Linked DNA regions of Homo sapiens: region 1 is linked to region 2. The links are contacts of gene promoters, found by promoter capture Hi-C in human tissues and cell types (Jung and others, 2019). All regions are on one chromosome and are shown on one strand. The core of a region is centred on a gene start or on the middle of the fragment in contact, and the rest is flanking DNA. Distances in the headings are between cores, read along the strand shown. Region 1 has its middle 3.4 kb from the start of MXRA7. Region 2 holds the start of QRICH2 (glutamine rich 2).

Evidence for each region. Contacts are between HindIII fragments. The study calls those that stand out against the background at their distance.
Region 1: a fragment that was not itself captured here is called in contact with the fragment with the promoter of QRICH2 in region 2 in 1 of the 25 tissues and cell types used here (dorsolateral prefrontal cortex).

What each region holds. Positions count from the first base shown.
Region 1 is chr17:76,711,840-76,716,926 of GRCh38, forward strand. It overlaps a transcript of JMJD6 not described here. Among named protein-coding and RNA genes, the nearest start is that of MXRA7, 3.4 kb to the left of the region's middle. The HindIII fragment of the contact is 3,371 bases long and covers 694-4,064 here.
Region 2 is chr17:76,307,009-76,311,749 of GRCh38, forward strand. It overlaps QRICH2 (glutamine rich 2), which reads right to left and starts at 1,268. Exons shown (of 19, transcript NM_001388453.1): 1 at 457-1,268. The coding sequence starts at 990. It overlaps PRPSAP1 (phosphoribosyl pyrophosphate synthetase associated protein 1), which reads right to left. Exons shown (of 10, transcript NM_002766.3): 10 at 2,470-4,692. The coding sequence ends at 4,534. The HindIII fragment of the contact is 11,814 bases long and covers 1-4,741 here.

The DNA of each region.
Region 1 (5,087 bases), core at 1,129-3,628, 410 kb after region 2:
CACGCCAAACATAAGGCCTAATGTTAAAAAAAACACGGTTCCAGTTTTTGCTGAGGATGCCTTTAATACTTTTTTGGGAATATTACAGTGCCTGAGCTGATCTGTGATATAAACCAGATATTAGATGGAGTGCTTCTTTTTAAATGAAGATACACAAACGAGACCCCTCAGCAACAGGGAGAGCTGAATTCTGCTGCACTGCACGATATTAAGCGGGCCATGCACTTCCTTTTAGTGGTGGTTGATGAAAAGAGCCTATAAACTATAAAATGTGAAATAGGCTTTATCTACGGGCGACTAGCTTTTAACCACTGTGGAAGTTTCAGCCAGTGTATGGGCCTATTTTTTTTCTTTTGAGATGGAGTCTTATTCTGTTGCCCAGGCTGGAGTGCAGTGGCGCAATCGCGGCTCACTGCAACCTCCACCTCCCGGGTTCAAGCGAAACTCCCACCTCAGCCTCCTGAGTAGCTGGGATTACAGGCGCCCACCACCATGCCCGGCTAATTTTTTTCTGTTTTTAGTAGACAGGGTTTCACCGTGTTGGCCAGACTGGTCTTGAACTCCTGACCTCAGGCAATCTGCCTGCCTCAGCCTCCCAAAGTGTTGGGATTACAGGCGTGAGCCTCCGCGCCCAGCCAATTTTTTTTTTTTTTTTTTAAAGAGACAGGGTCTTTCTTTCTTTTTTTTTTTTTAAAGAGACAGGGTCTCACTATGTTGCCCAGGCTGGAGTGCAGTGGCTATTCACAGGCATGATCATAGCTTTCTGCAGCCTCGACATCCTGGGCTCAAGTGATCCTCCTGCCTTAGCCTCTTGGGCAGCTGGGATTACAGGTGTGCATCAATGCTCCTGGCCCAGGGCCTTAATTTTGTGCTCCATCCCATTGTTTTAAAGTGTAAATACATTTTTTTAAAGTCCTGTTCTGCTGACAAAGTACATTGTTGACTTTCAAATGAGTAAGAAAGAAAATAAGGACAAAACAATGCCAAAAACACAACTCCAAATCATGTTGCTTTATTTAAAATGATGAACAAGTTTCACCCAAGTGAAAGTTTAAAATACCAACCCAATAGCAGATCCACAGGCTTTCATGGCAGACCCCATGGCTAGACGGACGCAGAACTAGGAGACTGCTCAGTGTTCTGACAACTCCAGGAGGCACGAGTGTGCAGAAGACAGTCCCAGTTCTTCTGTAGCATCCAGTCACTTTGGAGACAGCTGGCCAGGGCTAGCTCTCCTCCCAGGAGGTTCACTGGGGCTTAGATGACATTTCTTTTTTTTTAAAGACAGAGTCTCGGTCTGTCACCCAGGCTGGAGTGGCTTGATCTCAGCTCACTGCAACCTCTGCCTCCTGGGTTCAAGTGATTCTCCTGCCTGAGTTGACCAAGTAGCTGGGACTACAGGCATGTGCCACCACACCTGGCTAATTTTTGTATTTTTAGTAGAGACGGGGTTTCACCGTGTTGGCCAGGCTGGTCTTGAACTCCTGACCTCAAGTGATCCACCTGCCATGGCCTCCCAAAGTGCTGGGATTACAGGGGTGAGCTACGGCGCCTGGCCGAAATTTCTGAACAATGAGACAAAGTTGAGAGCCACCGCCTGGGGGTGCAAGCTCACCTAGTTTTGCTGCATAGGATGTCACATCTTGACACAAGCTAGTGGGAGGGGAGTGTGGAAGAAGCCGCCAGACTCCACTTCAAATCTACCAGCAATACCAGTACACACATCAAAAACAACTTACTCGTGGAAATACTACAGACAATCTAAAGAACCTACAGCTGGGGCATCCTTATACGCCTTCCTCCTACACAGCATTTTTTACATTTACTGCAAAAATTTTGTTCCATCCTATACTCGTCTAAAGTCCTAAATCCAAGGCTCAGTCTCTAGTAAGCTTATAAAGCATTTGCACCAGCAACCTTCCCACAGATCCTTAGTTTTGCTACTTTATGAAGAAGCTGTTACTACCTTAAGTATACATTGGTGTTAATTATGCTCTTTCATGTAGATCCGTTACACCTGCATTTAAGAAGGTCTGCACTTTCTTCTACCTGCCCTCACCAGCGGCCCTGTGAACAGCCGCAACAGCCGCACATTCACTGTCCATTAAGCTTGTGGAGCTTGTCAGGGACCTGGGCTTGTCACCGTTATCTCCAGCACCTCAAGAGCAGTGCCTGGCCCTCAAACACCTATTGAACGCTTGAATTATTAAGACACGGACAGCTGCAAGAATACAGCAAAATGTGAATGTCCCTCTTTTCAGTGGCTCTCCCCTCAAGGATGTCACCCTAAACATCCCAGTACCACTAATGGCAGAGGCATGTGTGTGAAGCATGGATTCTTCCAGCTGATGGTGAAGCCTCATCCCCAAAGACCCAGGGTCCTCCTGATGTTCTAGGTCCCCAACTCTTCTCTCTCCCACTCTGGTCCTTCCATCAGAAGTTAATAATCCAAGATCCCTTCTTCCAGGACCCAGCTCTTTGGTTTTAAGATCTGCTGTCATCTTGGAGAATCATCCCTGAAAATAATCTAACATTATCTCCTTCACTTTACTGTTGTTGGCACCATTCAATGGAGTAGCTCACGCCAGATGGGAAGAGGAGTTAACTTCTGAACAAGTGGTCTCTGGGTACCCACTCTTCCTAGTCTACCTTGGCCACCCGCCACCACTCCACTCCTTTTCCACACACGGTTTCCCCACCTTGCCCCTGTTGTGCTTACATAACGGACAGCCTGGCTAGCCCACAGAGACAGTAACGGGGGTTGGGGAATAGGGCTGCTGAATCCCTGGCCTGGCAGGAATAAACAAAGCATGTCCCAGGAGCACAGAATCTGTACTATCCAGACACTGTACTATCCAGAGCTGACTTGGGCCTATCAGATATGTTATTCCCCTCATTTCTGGAATACTGTTATCAAACAGGAATCAACTTTAGCATCTGGAGAAAGAAAACTGGGTGGCTAATCTTTATTTTCTAGATTATTATTTTTTTGAGAGATGGGATCTCACTATGTTGCCCAGACTGGTCTTGAACTCCTGGACTCAAGCAATCCCCCTGCCTCAGCTTCCCAAAGTGCTGGGATTACAGGTGTGAGCCACTGCACCTGGCCTTGGTGGCTAATTTTTAAAATTCAAAATTTCTGCTCCCCTATCCAGACCACTGGCAACGTGTCCTACCACGCCCCCTGGTGGCAAAGAGCCTTTTTGGGCTGTTTTTTATTTTAAACTGAAGTTTAGAGGAGTTGTTGATAGAAAACTGAAAGGAAGGTAAGGAAAAAGGGCAAGCGTGGCAGCACAGGAGCAATGCTGGGAAAAAGAAAAAAGCTTTTTATAGATGGCAAGAAAAGTCTTTTTAAAAAGCAGGAGTAGCAACACCACTCAGATATTACTACCAAGAGATTATACATTCAGAGTTTGACTTTACTCACACCCAAACACATCCTGTGCCCACCACAGAACCAAGGGGGCTGTGGGCGTGGGGGTAAGGAGGGAGAGCAGCCCCCATGGCAGGCAGGCAGCACAGTTCTACCTACCCAGCCACATACTGGGGTTGGCATTTGAGGATGCAGAAAATTGAACTAAGACAAAAATAGAGAACCAGCCTCCTAGAGTAAAGCCACATGACCCAATGTCAGGAAATGACAGTCTGTTAATAACAGTGAGCAGAGACCTGTATTTTCCTGGTTACACCTGTTTCTAGTGGATATTTTGAGAGGCAACAGCACACAATTCTAACACATCCACACACAGCCTCCCTGCCTGTGAACACTGCAGTGAGAGCTCCTTCCCACCTGCCTGCCAATGCCTCCAACGCTCCAGCCCAGGCAGTGCTTCCAAGTGCGCCCCATGGCCTTGACAACCCCTCTTATTGAAGTTTAGTTGAATTTAGGGACAAATTAAGGCAAGCAGGTGAATCAAGAGGGCAAGAGATGGCATCTGCTGGTCAATCCCCAAAAAGTCATCCAGTTAGTTATTTAGAAGTATCAACAGACTGCAAAGACTACAGGTGCCATCTCTGAATTTACTCCCCGTGTGTAACACAAGTCACCCACTTAACGTCTGTAGGTCAAACAAATGGGGAACGCTAATCTCAGAGTACCTCGCAAAGTGAGCACTTCTTATGGATCCCATGGTGCGGAAGAATGGAGCCTATTCATACTTTAAGTTCTGTGGTAAGAGCACATTGCACACCGTTCCCACTCTATGCAAACAAAAAACCCCAATGTATCACCCCCCCACAAAAAAATACACTGTACAAAAACACCCCTGAAATTTCAGTCTCTATGATGATGGAGAAAAAGATAAGGAATCCTAAGACAGACTGAGCAGTGGGTGATGGTGATGGTGCTGGGTCACTGCCACTGAATGCATTTGTGGGCTGATGATGACATACAGGAAGAAGGGCAGACTCCAAGTCCTTCCGACACATAATTGGCTCACAAAGTCCACTCACCACTCTCAGTCTCTGTGGTACACAGCTGGCTCTGTGGAAACTCCTTACCGACATCCGTGAGGTAACAGACACAAGACGTTACAAGGATCACACCCTGCCAGCCTTGTGGTTGACTGGCTCGGTTTTCAATGAGACAGCACAGAACCTTCTTACCCAACATCCCATTAGCTTCAGTGTTTCACTGAGCTGGCCGAGCTGTTAAATTTCTTGATAATCTATCCTTAGGAAGCAGTAAAAACAGCATTTGACCGAAGATAGGAGCTTGGACCAGGGAAGGAATATCCAAATTCAAAGAAGACAGAGGAGAAGGTAGGAGCAGAAGATGCGAGAACTGAGTTGGGTGGCTGCCAAAAGCTTACGCTGAAAGCACCTCAGGGAGAGTCTCTTTATCTGCTCAGGGGTGAGCCCGGCCTCCACAAGTGTCCCTAATCCTGCCAAGGAAAGCACAACTGCCTGTAATCAGCACGTAGACAGCATGCTGGGTACAAAGCTGGAAGGCAATGTTAAAAGCAGGACCCCCGGGACCCCACGTGGAAGTCATGGCAGGGCTTTCTCCAGAGTTTTCTTACAAATTACAAAGTCACAGATCAAGTGCAGATATAAATCTATAAATATGTAATAATAGAAACAATTTA
Region 2 (4,741 bases), core at 18-2,517:
ACGTATCTCTTCATGTCCTTATTCATTTTAAAAAGGGAATTCACTCTAAGAATCTTCTGAGAAGTTGCCGGCCCCACTCTGAGCCAGCTCTGGGTCCTTGGATGTCTGATAAGTGGTGGGCGAACCTCTCCCGTAAACAGGGGCTAGGAAGGAGGGGGTGGGATGGGGCCACTACACTTAGGAGGTGGGGTCCCCAGGCCCCTCCAGCTCGGGGAGGCCCTAGGCCTTTTGGTGGCGTTCTTTTAGGATTTTCACGTCTTGCAGCCCCGTGGACTGCAAGGTAGAGCATGGGCCACTCTATTTAGCCAGTCGCACTGAGGTCTGGCACCTCCTCGGTCCCCATCCCCTCCGTCCCCACCACCGCTCACCCCTCCAGGGTGGTGGGGACTCGGCTAGGCCTGGAGGGCGGCCTGGAGGAGGCAGACGGCCTGCGCGTGCCTCCGTGTGCGTGCTCACCCTGGCAAAGCTGAGCTCCTCGGCGGCGTCCTTCATGATACTCCCAGTCCGCACCCTATCGAACGCCCGCACGCCCACCTCCTGCTCCTCCGGCCACTCTAGCGCGGCCAGGTCAAGCCCGCTGGCCTGGGAGAAGTGCTGCACGTGCGTGGCGATGCCCTGCACCTGGCCGTCCACACGCTTGAGCTGCTTGCTCAGGTCCTCCACCTGGCCGCCCAGGTCCTTCACTTGGCTCTCCAGCGCTGACGAAGGCGCCTGGCCCACGCCCCTGCGCTTCTCCCGGGGCGCCCCCTTGGGCACCTCCTTGGGCGCGGGCAGGTGCGGGATGCTGAACGAGCTCCGGACGGACTGCAGCGAGCGGCTGGGCTCGGGCGACGAGGGCTGGAAGTCGATCCGGGTATTTTGGAGGTCGAGGTTCTTGAGCATGGCCACGATGAGCGTGTGCAGGGCCGTGAAGTTGACGGCGCCCACCTCTGGCGTGCCGATGGAGAGGTCCGCCAGCTCCCGGAGGGAGACCGTGGTCGCGGGCGGCATCGTGGCTGTCAGGAGCTGTGCGCCGCCGCGGGGCGCCGGCCAACCACTTCCCGCTCACTGCACGCCGCGCCTTGGGGCCTTTCGGGGGCCCTGCGAGGTCCTCGGGGCGCCCCTGCCCCGGGTCCGGCCGAGTCACTGGACAGAGCTCCTGCCTCCAGGGAATCTGCGCCTCCGCTCCCCGGCGGGGTCCGCGATGGCCACCCCTCCGCTGTCTGTCGCTGGCCTCGGGTCCCCGAGCTGGAGCCCTGGACTCCCAGTCCCCGCGCCGGCGGACGTTTGAAACGTGGGGGCCCCCGCGTGCCCTGAAGATTCCACGTAACAACACGCCTCCCTGCGAGCCACGGGGGCGGGGGGAAGTAAAGGCCACCACAAGGATCACAAGGGGAGCCTTGGCAACGGGCTGAGGAGGCCTCCTAAGATCCAGCTAGACTCCATCCATCCCCTTAACCTAGAAAGGCCAGGATTCACTCACTCTTGGCGGGGCCACATAAGGAAAGACTTGAGGGTTTCCTGGCAACCATGCTTTGTGTCATCAGCTGCGTCCATTCCAGAGTGGTGGCCCCATGTCTATGGCCCCATGTCTAAGGGATGCAGTCCTGGGGCCCTGGTCCCCTCAGACAGTCCACATATTTTGTTCAATCAAAGGTGAAGCAACTTGGAAAAGACAACCCACTCACTATTCAGGCAGTTCCAATTAGCCACTAGATGACTAACTGGTGGCTAATTGTCCCTTTTCTGTGCTGCCATAATTTTTTTTTTACTTTTGAGAGGGAGTCTTGCTCTGTCGCCCAGGCTGTAGTGCAATGGCACGATCTCGGCTCACTGCAACCTCTGCCTCCCGGGTTGACATGATTCTCCTGCCTCAGCCTCCCGAGTAGCTGGGATTACAGATGCGTGGTACCATGCCCGGCTAATTTTTTGTATTTTTAGCAGAGACGGGGTTTCACTATGTTGGCCAGGCTGGTCTTGAACTCCCGACCTCAAGTGATCGACCCACCTCGGCCTCCCAAAGTGCTGGGATTACAGGTGTAAGCCACCGCGCCCAGCCTGCCATAAATTAATTGATCTCAAAAAAACGGCCAGGCTTGGTGGCTCACACCTGTAATCCCAGCACTTTGGGAGGCCGAGGCGGGTGGATCACCTGAGGTAAGGGGTTCAAGGCCAGCCTAGCCAACATAGTGAAACCCCTCTGCTAAAAATACAAAAAATTAGCCGGGCATGGTACCGCGCATCTGTAATCCCAGCTACTCGGGAGGCTGAGGCAGGAGAATCGCGTCAACCCGGGAGGCAGAGGTTGCAGTGAGCCAAGATCGCACCACTGCACCCCAGCCTGGGCGACAGTGCAAGACTCTGTCTCAAAAAAAAAAAAAAAGAAAAGAAAAGAAACCACTCACCTGGTCAAGCGCCTGTGCTTGAGCTCATTACAAAGCAGGATTAAACAGCACGAGACAAATCTGGTGTTAACAATTGAGACATGACTTCCCCATACAAGATTCTTCCCAAAAACGTATAAATAAAACTTCCTAACAGAAGCACAGCAAGGCTACTTAAAGAGAACCTATGAATGTGTGCCATGCATGGCCAGCCTCCTCCGTGAGCTCTGCATCTGCAGATTTAACCAACCACGACTGAACACGTACAGATTCCTGTCATGATTCTCTAAATAATACAGCATGACCACCATCTACACAGGATATTGCAGTAGGTATTACAAGTCATCCAGGATGTGCATAGCTTATATGCAGATACTACACCATTTTCTATCAGGGACTTGCACATCCATGGGCAGGAGGTTGAGTCCTGGAACCAATCACCCATGGATTGTAAGGAATAACTGTACTATTTTAACTACTGTTCAAGTTCAGATTTTTCACTTCAGCCTGAGAGGTACTGTTTATTTAATTGAAGGATTTTCGATCATCATTATATTCCAATAACTTGGGACACAGTAGGCCTTTAAGGGGTTATCAAAATAACTAGTTCTTTGCAGTCTTTTTTTTTTTTTGAGATGGAATCTTGCTCTGTCACTTGGGCTGGAGTGCAGTGGCACAATCTCAGCTCACTGCAATCTCTGCCTCTTGGGTTCAACCAATTAATTCTCCTGCCTCAGCCTCCCGAGTAGCTGGGATTACAGGCGTGCACCCCCTCCCCCAACACCCGGCTAATTTTTGTATTTTTAGTAGGGACAGGGTTTCACCATATTGGCCAGGCTGGTCTCAAACTCCTGACCTCAAGTGATCTGCCCACCTCGGCCTCCCAAAGTGCTGGGATTACAGGCGTGAGCCATGATGCCTGGCCTCTTTGTAGTCTTTTTATGCTTTTAACTTAGCTAGGCTAATTTTTGTATTTTTAGTAGAGACGGGGTTTTGCCATGTTGGCCAGGCTGGTCTCAAACTCCTGACCTCAGGTGATCTACCTGCCTCGGCCTCCCAAAGTGCAGGGATTACAGGCATAAGACACGATCCCTGGCCTGTTTTTTTTTTTTGAGACAGGGTGTTGCTCTGTCACCCAGGATGGATGGCAGTGGTACAATCATAGTTCACTGCAGCTTCAACCTCCTTGGCTCAGGCAATCCTCCCACCTCAGCCTCCCAAGGTAGCTGGAACTACAGGCACATGCTACCAATGCCTGGCTAATTTTTGTATTTTTTGTAGACATGGGGGTTTCGCCATGTTTCCCAGGCTGGTCTGAAACTCCTGGGCTCAAGCAATCCTCCTTGCCTCAGCCTCCCAAAGTACTCAGATTATAGGTGTGAGCCACCACACCTAGACTTTTTTTTTTTTTTTTTAAAGATTTAAAATACAGTATTCAACAAGGATTTAGCTTCAACACTTAGGAAGAGGGTGGAACCTGGGAAAGTGTTTGTGTCCAGCCACAGACCTGACTGCTGTTCTGTATCCATGGTCTTCTGCTGTCTAATGAAAAGACTAGCAAGACAACAAATTATTTTATTTGCAACTTCAGAGCCACTCAGATACCCAGAGGTGGGATGCTATTTTCTAATCTGACATCCTTGGAAGATGTAACAACATGAATGCTTCATTTTTCAATGGCTGTAGGCATAACAATTTCTGAAAGAAAAATACGATTCTCTATAAAAGACTTGAAGTTGATTTGGGAGAGGCCAACTGGATAGTAATAGGGCCACAGGCGCTCAGCTTCCCTAACCAGGTTCAACATCAATACCTCCATTTCCCTGGAGCTGAAACAACTAAATGAACATTATAGAGTTAAGACTTTATGTGCCTTTAACTCCTCTTTAGTATCAATAAGATTTTCAGATTATTTTTAAGAAAGCAGCTAGAACTTTTAAGGAACAGGGCTGATGACAGCAGACATGTAAGGCCATGTTATGATATTTATCCATTAGCTCTGTCTTCTTCCTGACTCTTTTAATCCCTCCTCCCCATCAATCCGGGCAAAAGAAGATATCTAACTCCAGGCTGTTTCGAGTCCTCCCTTGCAAGGAAACACTGTATCACTCATGGCACTGCTTTTTCCATGTTTCCCTCAGGAGGTCCAGGGTCGAGACCCTCGTGAAAGCTAGTCATCCACAGTGATGTTTCGGAAAAGGTAGGCCATGGACTCTCCATTGTGGATTCTCCGAATGGCTTCAGAAAGAATCAAACTGATATCCACAGTCTTTATCTTGGGACATTGCAGCTTCTGAACCTCATGAGGGACAGTATTCGTCACCACCACCTAGTCACACAGTGATGGAAAACAAACGCTGTTACTGAAGTCTGTTCTC